Regions from separate parts of the Homo sapiens genome. Here regions 1, 2, 4 and 5 are each linked to region 3. Evidence: promoter capture Hi-C in 16 types of primary human blood cells and fetal thymus (Javierre and others, 2016). All regions are on one chromosome and are shown on one strand. Each heading gives the region's core, a stretch centred on a gene start or on the middle of the fragment in contact. The rest is flanking DNA. Distances are from core to core; before and after follow the strand shown.

Region 1 (3,671 bases), core at 1-2,500, 850 kb after region 3:
CACACACACACAGACATCCTATTGGTTCCGTTCTCTGGAGAACCCTGATTAAAACAGATTTCAATTCTCCCCAAAATTAGCTTATAGATTCAATGCACTCCCAATCAAAAATCCCAGCAGGCTTTTTTGTAGAAATTGGCAAGATTATTCTAAACTTCAAATGGAAATGCAAAAAAAATGTTTTGGCTATTTTAGAAAAATATAAAAACAAAAAGTTGGAGGTCTAACACTACCTGACTTCAAAACTCATGAAGTTACAATAATCAACACGCTATGGTGTTGGCATAAAGATAAGACACATAGATCAATGAAACATTAAGAGAGATTCTAGAAATAGACCCACACCTATACGTACAAGTGATTTTTGCCAAGGTACAAAGGCAATTTGGAAGGGAAAATACAATCTTTCAATAAATGCTGCTGAAACAAATGGATATCCACATGCAAAAAAAAGGAGCTTTCATTTATACCTCATGCCATGTACAAAAATTAACTGAAAGTGGTTCACGGACGTAAAGTAAAATGATAAGACTTTCAGAAGAAAATAAATGGTAAAATCTTTGTGAGTTACACAAAGGTTTCTTAGGTACAACACCAAAACAATCATCCATAAAAGAAAACAATAGACTTCAGCAAAATTAAAAACTGCCACACTTTAAAAGACACTGTTAAGGTAATGACAAAGGCAAGCCATAGTCTGGGAGGAAATATTTTCAAATCACATATCTGATAAAATAACTTTATATAGTCTATATTTAGAACTCTCGAAACCCATAATAAAAAAGGCAAATAAAAATTTAAAATGACAAAAGATACGAGACACACTTCATCAAAGAAGCTATACTGATGGCAAATAGGTACATGATAAGATGTTCAACATCAATAGTCATTAGGGAAGGCAAATTATAACCACAATGAGACACTACTACACATCCATTGGAATGTTTAAAATTAAAGGCAGTCCATACAACGTGTTGTCACGGATGTAGAGCAACCGGAATTCTCACACACTGCTAGTGGGAATGTAAAATGGCACAATCGCTTTGGAAAGCAGATTGGCAGTTTCTTAAGAAACTAAACATGTGATCCAGCCATTCCACTTTTAGATATTTACCAAAGATAAATTAAAGCATATATCCATGTATTTGTACTCAGATGTTCATAGCTGCTTTATTTGTAGTAGTCAAAAACTGGAAACAATCTAAATGTCCATCTGCAGATGAATAAATAAACAAATCATGTTTTACCATACAATGGACTACTGCTTAACCACAGAAAGGAATCAGTTATTGATATACACAGTACTATGAATGAATCTAAAAAAAATGCTAAGTAGAAGAAGCCAGATAACAGAGCACATACTATAAGATTCCATTTATCGACTGGCAGTAGTGGCTCACACCTGTAATCTCAACACTTTGGGAAGCTGAGATGGGTGGATCACCTGAGGTCGGGAGTTCAAGACCAGCCTGGTCAACGTGGTGAAACCCTGTCTCTACTAAAAAATACAAAAATTAGCCGGGCGTGGCGGCAGGCGCCTGTAGTCCCAGCTACTCAGGAGGCTGAGGAGGCGAATGGTGTGAATCCGGGAGGAGGAGCTTGCAGTGAGCAGAGATCACGCCACTGCACTCCAGCCTGGGTGACAGAGAGAGACTCCGTCTCAAAAAAAAAAAAAATAAATAAATTAGCCGGGCATGGTGGTGCGTGCCTGTAGTCCCAGCTATTCGGGACGCGGAGGCAGGAGAATCGCTTGAACCCGGGAAGTGGAGGTTGCAGTGAGCCGAGATCACGCCACTGCACTCCAGCCTGGGCAACAGAGTGAGACTCCATCTCAAAAAAAAAAAAAAAAAAAAGATTCCATTTATACAAAATTCTAGGAAATGCAAATTTATCTACAGTGACAGAAAGCAGCTCATGGCTGCCTGAGAACGGGGTGGCCTTGGGAGCAGGGGGCTGGGGCTACAAGGGCAAATGAGAAAACGTGAGGGTAAAGGATGTGTTAATTATCTTGATTGTGGTGATGGTTTCGTGAATAAATACACATGTGAAATTTACCAATGTGTAACTTTAAATGTGTGATTTGTTGTATGTCAATTATACCTCGATTTTAAGAGGAAGAAAAGAATATATAGAACAGTCACTATGCCCGTTTTCATAAGGCTCAGAAGTAGTTAGCAACACAAAGATTTATTATGCATAGTTTATGGTGAAATAGCACTAACACACACATTAAGCATATGATGATAACAGAGAGATCTTTTAGAATTTCTCAGATGTTCTGCCTCCCATTTTTGGATGGTCTTTACTGCAGACAGGGGTCATATCTGCTCTTCCACTGATATTTCCCTGACCCCTATTGGTCCTGTCCTACTCACTATAGGCAGCAATGCTCATAGCTCACCACCCAGTACCTGCCCTAATGTGAAGTATCTGCAGTGAGATGGAAAGTACTGAAGGGGGTGATCCCCTGAGCATTATAGATTATTCCAGAAGGATGACGTTGCTCATATGGCATGTCAACTGCTAGCTGTCTGCTGTAAGTTAGTAAGAGGATTAACACCATCCTGGAAGTATGGCCCTGAGAATATACTATAAAATAGCTATTGGAACATGTACTATGACCTAGCCATGATAAGAGGTCAGCAAATTCTGGCCAATATACCACAGCATCTGCCATTTGATAAACTTAGCATGACAAGGGCAGTGCTGACTCATGTTGGTATTCTAGCCCATAAAAACATCCTAGGAATCTGGGCAGAGCTGTCTGTAGATTTAAACCCTGATGTTTCGGAATGTGAGAGGAATGAAGGGGCCCACACAGGCTTATGATCTACAGCCAGGAAGCCTTGCTGATTTACAGTGGCCGCCACATCTCTGAACCTTCAGCATTCATCCTCTATTCCAGTGGTCACACAATGCACCAGGTATTGCGTGGTGCCTGGTATTGAGGTCTAACGTGATAACCTGGCTCTTGCAGTGAAACTCAACCTTTCATATTCATTCATTCATATAATAAATATCCATTAGGTACCTGCAATGGCAGAGTACTTTGTTGTATACTGGGGTTACCAGGATGACTAAGACAAGCACTACCCTCTTGGAGGTGAAGTTCACGAAGGGGAGATGGACATTAAATAACTGGTTACATGGTAAGTGATCTGGTGATAATAGTGGTGAGAGCTAAATGTATAGTTGGAAACAAGAGCCTGGAACAGAACAACGTGTGTGGTCTGGAGGATTGGGGAAGACTTTCTGGAGAAAAGGACATCAGAGATGACACCTGAGGGATGAATAAGAGTTCTTCAGGGTAATCAGAGGTGGGAATTTCAGGCTCAGGGAAAGGAGAGAAGAGCACTTCTTGAGGAATGAGAAGCATGCAGCGGAGAGAGGGAAGCAGGACAGAAGACAGATAACAAGGCTCTGCAGACTGTGTTAAAGGTTTGGGGAGAATGGAAAGCCATTAAGGAAGTCGCATTTTACCATCTTTATTACACTGTAAATTCCCTAGAGCACAGGGATTATGTCAAACTAAAAGAAAATAGCCTATCACCCACAAAATTCTACCTGCAAGTAATAATTCTAAAACTTTGCCCAAGGTTCTCTAGGATGCCTAACTGGGGTTCTCTATTTATAAATCTTTTCTAAAATGCCTGATCTCACTTTGCAATTTT
Region 2 (3,727 bases), core at 1,062-3,561, 530 kb after region 3:
ACACCTGGATGATTAATCATAAAGTAATTATAAAGACTCCAATTATTAAACTAGGCATTGGGTTCAACACTTTATGTACAAAATGTATTTCAATTTTTTGGAAACAATAAGCATTATTAACGCTGTTTAATAGAAGAGGAACTGAGACTTAGTGTTAACTGACACAGCAGGGCCACACAGCTAGCAAGCAAGAGGAGGGAGTAGGACTTGAGTCCAAGCTTATCTCAGCTTTTAACCACAATGATAGAATCTAGTGGTTGAGGCCAGTGTTGACAGATGTTCAGTAGAGACAAGGGCTGGGGAGGGAAGGAAAGGAAGGAGACACCGTGTAAGCAAGTGGAGGAATCCAGAGTTGCTGCTTGGGTAATTGTCCTAATAGATGCACTTCCACCATCACCACTGCCCTGAGCTCCATTTGTCTTCTTTCCTCCTTTTTCTCTGTCAGTTCTCATCTTGACCCAGATTTTTTTTTCTTCCAATAGTCAATGGGTGGGTACTGTCTGAATTCCTGAAGGGTTTCTGCTACTAGAACATGACCACCCAGAGCTGTCTGCTCTCCAATGGCTTAGCACATCAGCAGCAAAGGAGGCAAGATGCAGGCTGGAGAACATGAGATCACAGATGTATGAAACGTGCATAAGACAGCCTCTGGCACATGGCAGGTCATCAGATGATTCGGTGTTCTCCCCTCCTTTTAAAATTTCTTCATGCCAGTTTCCCACAGTCTCTCCTAATTTCCTTCTCTAGAGGCTCTAATTTTGTCTAGGACTGATTTGGCATTCCTGACCATCTGTGGAAAATGATGCCTCCCAGAAGACACCATTCTTTAAGACCTTCCTGTCGCAATCAGGACAATAAGCTCTCTCTTAAGGCCAACTCCCACCTTCACCCTGCACTTGTACCTTTCCTCATCATCACTGATGCTTCCTCCTTCTTCATTGAGCCCAATGTTAGGATGTGAGGCTTTTGAGCCTCCTTGTTTCATTATTAATGGAGCTTGAGATTTTGTTTCTTGCTTTGGAAGCTACATTGCAAATAAAAGCAGGGGCAGGAAGTGAGATCTGATTTTCTGTCTGGTGCCAAGGCTATGGTTAGATCTTTGAGGCCAATTTCCAAGTGACTTTGGATTGGAGTCAGAATACGTGTTTGAGGTAAATAGAGAAGAGAGCTATCTCTCAAGTGGGGCAATCTCAGAGACTGGTGTCTTGGAGAGATGTTTATTGGCTAAATAATAATTCCTTGCATATGTTCAGCATTTCACAGCTCACCAAATACTTCTTTGAGTATTATCCCATTTGATTCTTGAAACAATGTTCTAGGGTAGCTGGGAAAATAGCATTGTTCCCATTTTATACACACTCTGCACTCCTCAGTGAGGAGAGCAGAACTTATGGGACTTGTTCACAGTCGTTCAACCCTTTAGTGTAAAACCAGGACTGAAACCGAAGTTTTCTGACTGACTTGTGAAGATCATATGAATAAGGCAGGTATATAACTCACCTGAGAAAATGTCTTCTGCCTTTATGTATTTAGACAGTGTTAGTCTCTGTCCTCATTTCCTTTCTGAATCCTGGGTCTGTGTCCTTTTTCTCATTCGCTGTGCTGGAAAAATAGATAAAAGGAAGTGATTTGGAGAGAAGGAAGAGAAGAACGTGGTTCTTGATCTCCGGGGACTGGTTCTAAGACATGCTTCTGAGGCTGAGGTTGATGCTATTGTGAAACCCAGCATGAAGCATAACCTTGTTAGGTCTAACCAGCAGAGAGTGGGAGAACAGTGTCTCTCTTCACTTCTGCTTCCTTTCCTCCCTCCTTTCCCACCCTGCTTTTGTGATTTGTTAATTATTTGAGGCAAGGGTATTGGAGGTGTCTAGGCTCTGTCTTCTGACTCAGTCTCATCCCTCCCTGGCCCATAAAAATGTCTCAGAGGCCTTGTTGATCTGAGAATATGAGGCAAACCAACCATCTCGCCCTTTCTAGGCTTGTACATGGGTTTCGGAACTGTCCCCCCATAAACCCTCCCTGTGATCCCACCCACCCAGCCACTATTGCCAGCCCAACTTACTGGAAATCTCTGTTCCTCTAAAGCAGACATTGGCTTTGTTCCCAGAGCCAGGCAAAATGGAAATGCTTTCTAAGAAAAACACAAACAAGAGAATTACATCCTGATCTGACCAGTTGGAAATTTCTTCACAGTATAATTTTATTTGTTCCTCATCAAGGATGCTTTATCCCTCTTTCTGCAAAGGCTGGCCTGGTAGGTCAAGAAAGTAACTGATACTTATTTTTTTCTCTAGTCACTAAAAAAAAATCAAACCCATATAAATTGCTGTCAATTCTGGTGACTTAGAATACAGTTATAGTTCTGGTATCATAAATAAGCTGATATGATGGTACTGAAAGAGCTATAGGGTCCCCCTTCTTGAAAGATATTTAAAGATTTGAGAAACTCCGAAAGGCCTCTGGTCTGTGGCCCTCACTCCCCTACTTCACCCATAGCTCAGATTATGTTCTTTCGTAGCGTGGTTATTGGATTCCACTCAACTGCCACCGTCTTTGGATAATGCCATCCAAGAGCATGACTATTCTCCAATGTCTAAGTTCTCCAAAAACCTCTTTGTTTTCCCTTGACCACTGCAGTCCAGTAAATGCTACATTATGTTAAAGGTGACCTCATTTGACCTTCAAATCATCTTTAAAACTGGCCTTCCCACAGTAAAAGAATTTCAGACCATAGACTGCAACCATTGTGTTTATCTCACACAATATTGTTTTGAAGGCTTCTGTCAATGTAACTCAAGTTTGAAGCACTAAGCTGGCACTTGATATATGCTGCTGAACAGTCTAACTACAGGATATACTATCTATTATTTTAGTAGCAATGGGAGGTATATGCCAAGCCTTGTTTTAGATGCTGCAAATGCCAATGTGCCTATGAACAGTCCAGCCTTAGACTCTAAAGAAGCTCTTACTACATATTCATATTCCAGTTCATAGATCTTTCTCCTAGACTTTGATTTTCGGATTATTTAATTGTTGTATTATTACTCAATTTTGTATCCATTTTTGCTTCATCTCTTTCCTTTGTCCTAATCCTTTGGAGGGAATAGCAACAGCAATGGTGAGGAGAAAGAGCCCAAGAAAGGTAGACTTGAATTCTGCTCTTAATTCATTCACTCTGTGATCACTGACTTCTCTCTTTACTTCTCTTATCTCAGCGAATTTATATGTAATATTAGGAGAATAGAAATGCAAGGGACCCTAGGAATAAAATAATTACTTATTGAAAATAAATAGTCAAAGACGACTATTATCCAGGTGTTAGAGATGGAAAGGTAAATCAGATTTGGTCCCTGACCCTTAGGGGCCAGTCTAGCAGGAAAACAATCTTGGAGCCTAGAGCTTTTTCCTTGTACCCAGCACATGCCTTAAACTTCGTGAGTGCTGGAGAACCAGATGTTAATTTGGGTGTGGGATTTTGAGCTAGTTCTTTTACCATAATTGCTATTTCCAAGTGGAGCTGATCGTCTTTCTACTTTCTCTTTCTAGGGGAGAAAGACATATTCTAGTATAGATCCTAGGTATTCCCATCTGACCTATAAATTGACTTTGTGATACAGCAGAAAAGGCATAAATTAAAATATTATCTTCTGTTACAAATTCCATAGTTTTGGATAAGTCATGTCCCTTTTTGTGCCTCATTTTATCCCACTGATAATAAGTGGTTTGA
Region 3 (3,672 bases), core at 294-2,793:
TAATATTTTAACAAAAGAGATTTTTTTTCCAAGTTCAGAAAAAAACCTATGCGGGGCGCGAGGGGGGTGGAGGAGGGAGTTGATAATGTAACATACACTCTTTCAGACTGTAGATAGGGTACCAGGGGATTTGGACCTTGTGACCGAATAAGAGCTCAGAATCAGTATTCGGACAGAGTAGGGGGAGGGGGCGGGCAACGTGTGGGTAGGAGGAAGGAGAAAGAGCGAAAGCTGGGATAGACTCGGCTAGACAGTTCCCCCGGGTAGCAGGATCCTCCAGGGCTCCAATTCCGGGGTGCAAGGACCCTCCCCGACTACTCCCGAGCTGCACCCCAGCTCGAAGCCACTTGCTGCGCAAAGCGCGCGGGCCCAGCCGGTCTCGTGTCCCCCGCCCGTGCGCCGCGTAACTGACTGGCACACTGAGCGCGCTCACCGATCTTGACTTGCTCGCGGTAGCTCTTTTCGTTGAGGCAAACCCCGCGGCCGTGCAGCAGGGCGTGCAGCGGCTTCTCCTCGTCCTGCCGGGGGAGGCAGCGCAGCCCCTGGGCGCAGCGCTCGGTGTAGACGCCGCACGACTGCCCCTCGGCCAGGGCGCAGGTCATGCAGCAGCCGCAGCCCGGCTCCTTGACCAGCTCGCAGCCCAGGGGGCTGGGGGGGCACATGGAGAGGGCTTTCTCGTCGCAGGGCTCGCAGTGCACGAAGGAGCCCAGGCTCTGGGCCGGCCCCGCATAGGCGGCCAGCAGCAGGAGGACCGCGGTGAGCAACACCATCTTCTCTTAGTCGCCCCCTTTACCTCGGGGTGGGGCAGGAGAGCGAGAGTGCAGGGATAAAGGGGCCAAGAGGGCCCCCGGAGATTTTTTTGTTTTTGTTTTTGTTTTAAAATTTCTGGCAGGTAGAGCAGGTGCCCTCCCCCAGACACTTGCAAAAATGTAGAGAGAGGTGGAGGGCTGGGGTGCCTGCGAGCAGGTCCCAGTTGCAAGAATTAAAGCCTTGCAACAGGTTGGGGGAAGCAGGGCAGCGCCAGGTGCACGCAGTGAGCGGAGGCCGGAGAAACCCTCAAGCCTGAGCGGGTCAGAATTATAGGGGAAAAAAAGCCACAAAATTGTTCACCCCCAAGCAACCACCGAAATAATGAGATCGGATGCAGTGGAGATGGCGTTGGGGGTGGGAGAGAAAAATGGATTTATCTTTAAAATTTTTGCTTAAAATCTAAAATACACCCCGCTTTCTAACCCTCAGCTGCCAGCGGTGCGCGGCGCCGCAGAACAGGTAAGAGGCGTTGGCTGCAGCCGAGAGGGTGGGAGAAAATGTTGAAATCAAGAAATTAAAAAACAAAAACAAAAACAAAAAAACCCCAAACCCTAACACCTCTTTTCTCCCACTTTGCCACCTCCTCTTCGAAATTCGCAGGTTCTACGCGAAGTCCGGAGAAGGGTGAAAACGGAGGAGGGGTAATGAAAAGGAGCAAAAAAGGGAAAAAGCCCACACTGCTTTGCAGCTCTTTCCTAGCTCTTTTCCCCTGCAGAAGTTTCCAAAGAGACTACGGGGCTCCGGGAGAGCAGGCGCTTTTAAATAGCCGGCCCCTGGCTGCCAGCCAGTTTGTAGCTGCAATTTGAGCTTCCCAACACCCAACTCAGGCAAGGATGCCAAGGAGCTTTGCAGTACAAACTCACACGGGGTGGGGGTGGGGAGAGGCCTTCTAGACACAAGGGGGCTCCCCTTCGCTCCCTGAACAGCGCCCTCCTCCCCTCTGAACAGCGCCCTCCTCCCCCCGGAATGTAAGAAAGGGGCAAGGGGGACAGGCTGGGGCTACCGAGAATGGGGAGGAGGTGGAGGGGCCAGTGGAAGACAGAGTTCTTCGGAGCAGGGTGAACACAATGAGGAGAGTAACTTCGTCTCCCCTTCCCTCCTATCCTTTAAGTAGTCAAGGCACAGGCTGAAGGGAGACGTATTTTCTTATTAGCCAACTGGATATACCGTGCCCAAGAAATCTTCCTAAGCTTCTGCAATTGACTGTATGCTGGTGTCTGTTTCCATGTGGGGTGTGTGTGTGTGTGTGTTTGGGGGACAGGTAGTGTAGAATGGCCAGTGATGTCTGGTGAGCTAAATTTAAAAAAGAAGAAAAAATTGAATTTCTCCCCTAAAAGTCTGGAGAAGAGGATTTAATCAGGGGGTTTCAGTACTCATGATGAAGAGGTGACCAGTTGCCTTCAGCTGCGTTGGCCAGGGAGGTTCTCTCTCTCTTTCTCTCTCTCTGTGTGTGTGTGTGTATGTGTGTGTGTTGTGTATCTGCAGGAATGGACATTCATACAACAGCATTATTGAGAGCAGTGAGTTGCAGAGATGGACACTTTGGAGGAAATGCTAAGTCTGAAAACCTTGCATGGTGGCCTAAAGTGTCCTTGTGTGTGGGGTTCTTAGAGGGAAGAAAGGTGGATTGGAGTGACACTTCCCTCTCTGTCACTTTGCAGAGGTATTTCTATTGGGCAGGGCCACATCCCTGGAGGGAGTGGGTGGCAGAGTAGCTGGAGGAGACCTTGTGATAGGTTGACAGGTTAGTTGGTGCTTATAGGCACATCCCAGGAATATGAGCTGACAGGGCCACAGGACCTGCTTGGAAGAGGTCCTGACCAGGAACCGAATCATGCCACTAGAACCTCTTTAATAAAATGAAAGAAAACTAAGGCCTTGAAATAGGAAGGTGGTGGTTTTAGCTTTTTCTGAAATTGACCTGAGTGAGCCATGAGCCTCACAGGCAAGTCAGAGAGAAATGACCAATGTCACTGCCCCTGCTGGGTGGACTTGGTGTGGGCTGTTACACCTTTTACATTGTGCTTCCTCCCTTGAGAAGTATTCTAACTTTCCTTTGGAGAAGGGGCTGCATTTCATGAAGTTTGCCACTAGACTGCACCCTTATCTATGATAAGAATTCTTTCTGGAGGACTGCTTTCAAGAAAATATTTTTTCTTGCTCGTTCAGTTCAGGAGCATCTCACTTTATGCCGTTAACACCCCCAGATCCTGATCTCTCTTCTCACTTATCTATTTGCCGAAAGGCACATTTTAAAACAAGGTTAACGTCTAAAGTTATGTCTTTGCCTGTATTGCCAAAGGGGGTTTAGCCACGTGGTGGCTGGGAGAGGGAGGAGCATTGTGTGTAATGATTAAAACAAAAAATAGCAGCAAGGCTCATCTTAATTTCTTCTTTTCTCAGTCTGAGGGCTTGGTAAGGTAGGAACAAATCAATATTCAAAACTTTGGTGGAAATATTTTAGAAGTGAGGGAAATCATGTGTTATTTTGTCATTTGTGTCAAGTTCAGACTACAAGAGTGGCAGCAGAATGTGTGCAGTATGTTCTCTTCCCTGCTCCTATTTCTTTCTGCACACCCTTAGCAGCTCAGCCTGCCTCAGGCACACTGGTAGCTTTTAAGATGATTGGGGGAAATTGTGGTACTCCTTCCAAAGAAACATGAGTTGCCTCGTTCCAGTCACCCTGTATTCTGAGAGAGATGGCCTCTAGTGACACCTCTTTTTGTGTAGCCGACTTCCAATGGCTGGATAATACAATATGTGAAGACAGGTAAAAGGAGGGGGGATCATTCACAGAAAAGATAAAAAGGGTAGAGAGAAGGGGGGAGGAGAATGTGGTGGGAGCCGGACCCTGGGGCAGAG
Region 4 (3,476 bases), core at 21-2,520, 780 kb after region 3:
CATAAGGTAGTATCTTGAATTTAGGTGCAAATATAAGTGTGTGACTAGCTGTTATCCTATACTTTAGAATGAAAACTGGTGGGTGCCTTGGGCCTGGGCAGTGCTCAACTCCTGTCAATGGGAGGCAGCAATGCACCCTGTAGATCCCAGGCCAAAGTGAAGCCCTTGCTTCTCTCTGTGGGCAAAACTGAGATAAAGGAACACATTCTCCAGGCCATGTCATTGTATTTTTACCTGCCAAAACCCATTGCTGATGTCCCCATGCCTTCCCTAACAGGTGGAGGTGGACAGCATACCCTGGGGAACCTAAAAATTCCTGAGCTATGGCCCATTACCCTCTCCACCTGTGGGGTTGAGTCTGAGCCATTTCTTTCCCCCAGGCTTCAGAACCCCTTCTCCCAGCTACATTCCTCCCATCTTGATCTACGGAGGCTGGGAAGAGACATGAAAGCTTGCTTTTGCTCTCACGTCAAGTAAGTCCATCAATTATGCTTTCTAATGTTTAATTCCATTATTTTATCATCAAATAACTGAAGCCAGATTTATCTTCAATTCATTATGACCTCTCCAGCCCTTAACTTTAGACAAAGCAAACACTACCAAAAACACCCCGAATGGACTTGCTACAAAAATTTGGGTAAATTTTATTTTTCTCATCTCTAAATTAGATGCATAAAGCCAACCTTTGCAGAGAAGTGACTGTAAGGAAGAACAAATAACTTACTTGTCAAATTTCTGGAGGTCTTCCTGTAGCACCATCTGGAGAGCCCAGTGCTATAATTCCATGGATATGATTGTGAGGTCTTGTGTGAGGAATGTCTTCTTTCAGGCAGCTAGAATTCCAGCCCACTGATATTTCCATGGACTTGGCATGTTGACATCCCTCGGACTCAGTTTCTCTCCTTTGCAAAATAAGATAAATAATATGGTCTAGTCAGCTGGCACCATAAGAACAATTCTTAAAATAATTTTGTGCACTTTAGAAGGAAAGACATCAGTAACATTCAAGTTTTTTGGCATTTTTTTTCCATATTGAATCACTCCAAGGTAAGGGTTTTTAAAAATCTAAGTGGGGAAATCAGCAAATATATCCACACAAATCAGTATGTTTCTTTTTGGCATATGGCATTACTATGCATTTTGATTTTAAGGATAAGCAGTTTTCATCAGTATTTTTTAAATGTGCTGAGTCTTTTCTCTCAGGCTCCTGGATTCAAGGGGCTGAATAGATGGGAATTCCTGCTGTCTCTGGAGAAGAGCTTACTTCCTTTCCCAGACTTCCCAACCCCACCCAGGATCACTTGTCATTGAGATTAACCTTTGTGGAGAGGCACCCAGGAGCGCAACTCTCTGGGAGTGTGACAGCTTTTTCAGGATATCAGGAAGTGGAGCGTGTGTGTGACCCAGGAGGGACACACATCCATGTTACAGAAGAAGGCTGAGGCTGCAAAACATGCCCCAGAAAGGAAGCGGATGTTACACCTTCGCTACCTCGCTGCTCTGAAACAGGAAGACATTCATTTGTCCTTCTGGGCATTCAACATTCCACTCACAAACTCCCCTCCTGGAGTCTCTCTGTGGTTCAGTGAATCGTATGTTCCAGAAACCAGCCCTTCCCCCACCTCAACCCAGAGGACTTACTAGTTCTGATGTGAAAGGTATTGATTCAGAAGCTCTTGATGGCTGAGGGCTCCCTGCTAATGCCCTTCCCCCTAGTGCGTTTATTAAACGCCCTCCCGCCTAGTGCATTTGGCAGGTCTCAGAATTCTGCTTTCTTGTGTTCCCTTCCATTTTCTTCATTGTAAGCCCCTCCTCCGTCAAATAAACCCTAACTTGGGTTTAAGACCTTCTTGGAAGATGATTCTATACCCTCCCTTTCTAGACCTCCACAACCCTCACTCTCATTCAAATGAGAGAATCACTAAAGGGCTCCTTGTCCTTGCCCCCCAGCAGACCCTCATAAATCCACAGTGAGGTTTTTTTTTTAATTAAAGCGTCCAAATAATTAATGATCAACTCCATTTGTGCCATAGAAAACCAAAATGTCACACGGTTGAAAAGACCCAACCAAATAATTCAGTGTACCCTATAAAGCTTTAAAAAAGCGGAGCCCAAGAGGCCTGCATGACTGGTTTCTGTGCTGTCTGAAAAGCTTGGTTGGGTTTTGGGCACTTGATCGGATTCCAGGAATAATGTGCCCTGAGCACAAAGGGCTCTTTTGATGTGTCTGTGCCATAGCTCCTCCCCTTTTCCTCCTCACTTTACCTGGGATACACATTCTCCTTGTCTCCTAAGTTGGAAAAAATAACCCATGGAAAAGAGGAAAAAACAGCAGAGGGAAAATCTAGGCTGGAAGTGGGGAAAAATGCTGCAGTTCTTAGTCTGAGTTTGGTTACTAAAGACTAGTTATTCCAGAAGGAATAGAAGAAGTGACATTTATACATTGTCTGTGACCAGACAATGGGAAATCGTAATGATAAGATGTCTCTTGTTTGAATGTGGTCCCTTGAGCTAAAGGTAATGAGTGAGTCTTCAAGCAAGGACTTGCCACTTTCAAACAGTCAGAGGTATGGCAGGTTACTAACCCTAGAAATCAACATGAATTTAGATGCCTAATCCAGCCAGAGAATCTTATAGATAGTGAGTCCATCCCGTTGGTTTTCCATGGGTACCAGAATATTCAGGAAAGATGGAAAGAAACAAGACAGAACTTCCATTGCTAGGATGTCCTTAAAAAGTGGCAGAGCAAACTAGAGGCCAGGAGTGTATAAGCAATGGCCCTGAGAGATAAGGATTGTGGGTCTAGCCCCAGCATACAGATGTCCAGATTGGCAGCAAACTGCAGTAAGCTGGTGCTAATACAGGGCTATTTTTGTCTGTCTGGGCTAACTTGAAGAGGATGTTTTTTCCTTCTAGCCTCATTCTCCTTATCTACGTAAAGATGGACTTGTACTGCACCACCATCAGCTCTGAGATTCTATTTCAGAAATCTATTGCTGCCCCAAAATTTGATGGCTGACAACAAGAATCTACTTATTTAGGTCTTTTTGGTTTTATCTCAACAGTGTTTTATGGATATCTGTGTAGAGATTTGTACATATATAGATTCATTGGTAGATTTATCCCAACTATATGTTTTTGATATTACTGTAAATGGTATGCTTTTTAAATTTTATTTTTAAATTATTTGTTAAATATATTTATTTACATATGTATATAGAAATATTGATTTATATATACCAGCAACAAATCATCAGCTCTGAGATTCTGTTTCAGGACTCTATTGCTGCCCCCAAATTTAATTGATTTTTATAGATTGAATTTGTATCTAGTAACTTCACCAAACTCACTTACTAATAATATTTTATAGATTCTCAGTCTGTCTTCTCACCATCAACTCTCAGCTGGTGAGATCACAAGGAAGATGCTTGATATATCTTTTAGGTTTCTTAGGTTGTAAGCAACAGAAGTGACTC
Region 5 (3,674 bases), core at 228-2,727, 800 kb after region 3:
TGGAGCTGTCTTTTCTTTGGATCTCAGAAACCACAATGAGGAACTATTTTCAGTGGCTTTAGTCAGGGGAACAAGATGGGAGCTTGATTTTGCCCTCAGATTTCACCACAGCCAACAAATTCTAACTTTGTTCAGATGCATTGTCACGCCTTGTATTTACTTCTTGCCAATAACCTGAGGTCTAGTAACCACTGTTTTTGTGAAAGTCAAACAATATGGACTGATATTCAACTCCAAAACGGGCTGAGCACTGTGCGGGTCTCTCTCACTGGGTCTCAATGTCCTCACCGGTGTTAGGCAACTCACTTACCTGAACCTTTGAGTAACTCTTCTTCCCTCTGCACAGTCTAATTATACAGGAGATACTGTTCACTCATAAAGGATAATGGATTAGGATGAAAATATTAAAAAAAAAAAAAAGGAAATAAGATCCTGTAAATGGGCTGAATGTGGTGGCTCATGCCTGTAATCTCAGCACTTTGGGAGGCTGAGGTGGGCAGATCACTTGAGTCTAGGAGTTTGAGACTAGCCTGGGCAACATAGTAAGACCCCCCCATCTCTAAATAAATGAATAAAATTTTCAGCTGAAAATAAATTTGCAATAAATAAATAAATAAAGAAATATAAAAGGTCCTATAAATGCAAAAAGATCATTATAACCTATACACTGACAACATGGATTATGGGAACATTTGCAGAATATGACTGAAGTTCACATAATCTCTATACCCACCCAGATGTGTGTCTTTAGACTACTTCAAACCTAATGTGGAAATTGAGATTGTGTTTGGCCAACTTAATCACCTACATCAGTCAGAGGAAGATGAAAGAAAAGTCATAACTAATATGCAAGCAATTATTATCCAAATTTGGCTTTTTATTTCTAAGAACCATAGAATTAAATTCAAACATTTAATCCCTCTCTGCTTGGGCCTGTTTCACCAACATGTGGGACAAAGAGGCAGAAAACAATTTATTTCTAGGCCACCTGCCGCTGTTTTCTTGCTGAACTGGATACGTGGTAGGAGAAGAAGCCAGGTGGTCTGACCTGTTCACAAGTAATCAGGAGCTAGCTGTTCTTCCTGCAGCAGAAGCCAGAGCTCAGAATTTCCTGACCCATGCCCACTACATTCTCAATGTGGTGTTTCCTTAAGATCTGAGTGCTCATACACATCATTCCCGGAGCTCACATGCCTCCCTTTCAAGGCACATTGTGTCTTTCTTCCTGAGTCCCACAACAACATATGAAGGGGAAAATATGGGTATAAAAGTCTTTTCCCACCTTTCCATTGAGACCATGGTGATATTTATGCCCCTTCATTTCATCCAGAACCCAGCTCTGGGACATGTGGCTATGAAACCTTCCATCATTTTAAGACTTTTGAAAGTACAATTTCCAGCAGAACAGTGGTTTTTATTGTTTCTCTCTCGTTTCTGAGCAATTTAGGCCATCTAAAGAGAAAGACCTGAAGTTTCTCTTGTCAGTTCAGCCCAAAAATGAGGGGAAATGATCATTTGAAATCCAGAAAGAGAAAAAAAAATTAAAGAAAGAAATTCTTGACTTGGAAGAGATTACATATCTGACTAGAAATAAAATGGGATACAGTGAAGTTAAAAACATGAATTCCTACCACATTATCACTAACATGAGCTGTTCATCCTGAATTGCCTCCAGCTAGGGAGCTGTGGTAGGAAGGGTACTTAAGGCTTTGAAATCAGGTCTACCCAGGTTCAAATCACAGCTCTGCCTTTTCCTGCCTCTATCCCCTCATCCTTATAAGTGTCAGCTGAAGAATGATGAAGTCATAATTTTGGAAAGGAGATCTTTATTTCTCATAAACGGTTGTAGCCTGCAAGGTAGCCATTCTGACAGGCTGGGAAGTGTAGCCTCCAGCCAGAAGCTGGAAAATGGCACTTTGGTGGTGGTCGGGGTAGGCATAAGACAGGAATTTATGCTGAACAGCTTGGCTAAGCATACATATTCAATAAACTATAGGAGAAATCATGAATATTTATGAAAGGAGTAATATGCACAGGCACAATTGAGCTCCATGCCTCTTCATGGGTGGCATGTTCAAAAAATGATGGCATTACTATTTAAAATAGTAAGGACTTGGAACTAACCCAAATGCCCATCAATGATAGACTTGATAAAGAAAACGTGTCACATGTACACCATGCAATACTATGCAGCTATAAAAAAGAATGATTTCATGTCTTTTGCAGGGACATGGATGAAGCTGGAAGCCATCATTCTTAGAAAACTAACACAGGAACATAAAACCAAACACTGAATATTCTCACTCATAAGTGGGAGTTGAACAATGAGAACATATGGACACAGGGAGGGGAACATCACACACCGGGGCCTGTTGGGGGGTGAGGGGCAAGGGGAGGGAGAGCATTAGGACAAATACCTAATGCATGCTGAGATTAAAACCTAGATGATGGGTCGATAGATACAGCAAACCACCATGGCACATGTATACCTATGTAATAAACCTACATGTTCTGCATTATGTATCCCAGAACTTAAAGTAAAATTTTAAAAAAAAAAAGATGGCATTAGAATGATCCAAAGGTGCAGTTTTTGACTTTCTAATATCAAAAGGTAAAGCACAGAACATGTAAACCCTCACTGTGCACCCTCTGTTGATGCCAGAACCACTCCATGGTTGGTGGTCTCTTATTAGGAAGGAATACATTGTAAAACTGGTGAGTTATCATGTCAAAACTGCAAAGAGAGGGAGAGAGTCCTGTCACGGCCTCAGATAATTGGCTAAAGGTAATAAAGGAAGGAGTCATCCCTTTCTTGTTTTCTAGAGCTGATTTCTGCTTACTCTAGGAAAGAATTCTGGTTAAAGGTTAATAACGAAGGGGCATACTGGGATGTGTCTGACCTCCCATCTTGTCATGGCTAGGAGCTCAGTTTTTAAGGTTTATCTGGGGTCCCCTTGGCCAAGAGGGAGTCTATTCAGTTTTTTGAAGGACTTAGGATTTTATTTTTATTTCTCATGAGCAACAAGGCTTATGATCTATAAAAACAGGGAAAATAATACCTTCTTCATAGGGTTGTCATGAAGATTGAATGGACTATGAATTTAAAGTATCTGTTACAGAGTTGAAAGGTCACAAATGATAGCTATAAAGTATCTAGCCCACAAACCTTGCTGTTTTTCCTGGAATTTTCATTGGTTACACCTTCAAGTTAAAGATTGAAAGTTACTATTAAAAGTCAAATATGTGACCTAGAAGAAATAACAGCAATCTCTTTCAGTGATTATCATCTTGGTATATGTTAGCACCTAGCCTAGTTATCTGATATGATAGGGGAATAAGATAGAGAGATTTTAATGGCTAGAAGGAAAGGGAAAAAAGCTTAGAACATGGTATGCTGAGACAGCAAATTCAAGTGGGCAAGAATCGTTGACACTCCAGGAAGTGGGATGCCAAATGAGGGTGGGAAGCCAGAGGAGAGGAGAAGAGACTTTCTGCATGAGAAGACATTTCATAATTTTGCCTAGGAGCCCAGGAAATGTGATTGCCACCACCAATTTATGCTTGCCTCACTAATATACCACCTCCCCCAGGCAAGTAACTTTGCCTTCATCTGCAAGTCTGCCTGGAGCCTCATTTCTTCATGAAGCTCCTCACAACAATGTACATGGTAGTGA

The links. Contacts are between HindIII fragments. The CHiCAGO score rates a contact against its expected background, and 5 or more counts as called.
Region 1: a fragment that was not itself captured here is called in contact with the fragment with the promoter of IGFBP5 in region 3 in 1 of 17 cell types (M2 macrophages); the score reaches 5.3 in M2 macrophages.
Region 2: a contact is called between a fragment that was not itself captured here and the fragment with the promoter of IGFBP5 in region 3, in 2 of 17 cell types (erythroblasts and megakaryocytes). The highest score is 5.7, in erythroblasts.
Region 4: a fragment that was not itself captured here is called in contact with the fragment with the promoter of IGFBP5 in region 3 in 2 of 17 cell types (M0 macrophages and endothelial precursors); the score reaches 6.2 in M0 macrophages.
Region 5: a contact is called between a fragment that was not itself captured here and the fragment with the promoter of IGFBP5 in region 3, in 8 of 17 cell types (fetal thymus, megakaryocytes, M2 macrophages and 5 more). The highest score is 11.0, in fetal thymus.

What each region holds. Positions count from the first base shown.
Region 1 is chr2:217,548,976-217,552,646 of GRCh38, forward strand. All of the region lies in intron 2 of DIRC3 (disrupted in renal carcinoma 3), which reads right to left. Among named protein-coding and RNA genes, the nearest start is that of DIRC3, 240 kb to the right of the region's middle. RefSeq lists an enhancer at 2,479-3,047. The HindIII fragment of the contact is 5,153 bases long and covers 1-3,671 here.
Region 2 is chr2:217,218,725-217,222,451 of GRCh38, forward strand. It overlaps LOC105373872 (a long non-coding RNA gene), which reads right to left and starts at 2,133. Exons shown (of 3, transcript XR_923875.3): 1 at 2,063-2,133; 2 at 1,501-1,602. RefSeq lists an enhancer at 409-648. The HindIII fragment of the contact is 4,190 bases long and covers 217-3,727 here.
Region 3 is chr2:216,694,006-216,697,677 of GRCh38, forward strand. IGFBP5 (insulin like growth factor binding protein 5) reads right to left here and starts at 1,544. Exons shown (of 4, transcript NM_000599.4): 1 at 434-1,544. The coding sequence starts at 770. IGFBP-AS1 (IGFBP5 antisense RNA 1) reads left to right here and starts at 441. Exons shown (of 6, transcript NR_187138.1): 1 at 441-756. The HindIII fragment of the contact is 8,390 bases long and covers 1-1,998 here.
Region 4 is chr2:217,477,657-217,481,132 of GRCh38, forward strand. It overlaps DIRC3 (disrupted in renal carcinoma 3), which reads right to left. Exons shown (of 13, transcript NR_186301.1): 3 at 725-902. Among named protein-coding and RNA genes, the nearest start is that of DIRC3-AS1, 200 kb to the left of the region's middle. The HindIII fragment of the contact is 1,643 bases long and covers 450-2,092 here.
Region 5 is chr2:217,494,646-217,498,319 of GRCh38, forward strand. The region is part of intron 2 of DIRC3 (disrupted in renal carcinoma 3); the gene reads right to left. Among named protein-coding and RNA genes, the nearest start is that of DIRC3-AS1, 210 kb to the left of the region's middle. The HindIII fragment of the contact is 3,797 bases long and covers 1-3,376 here.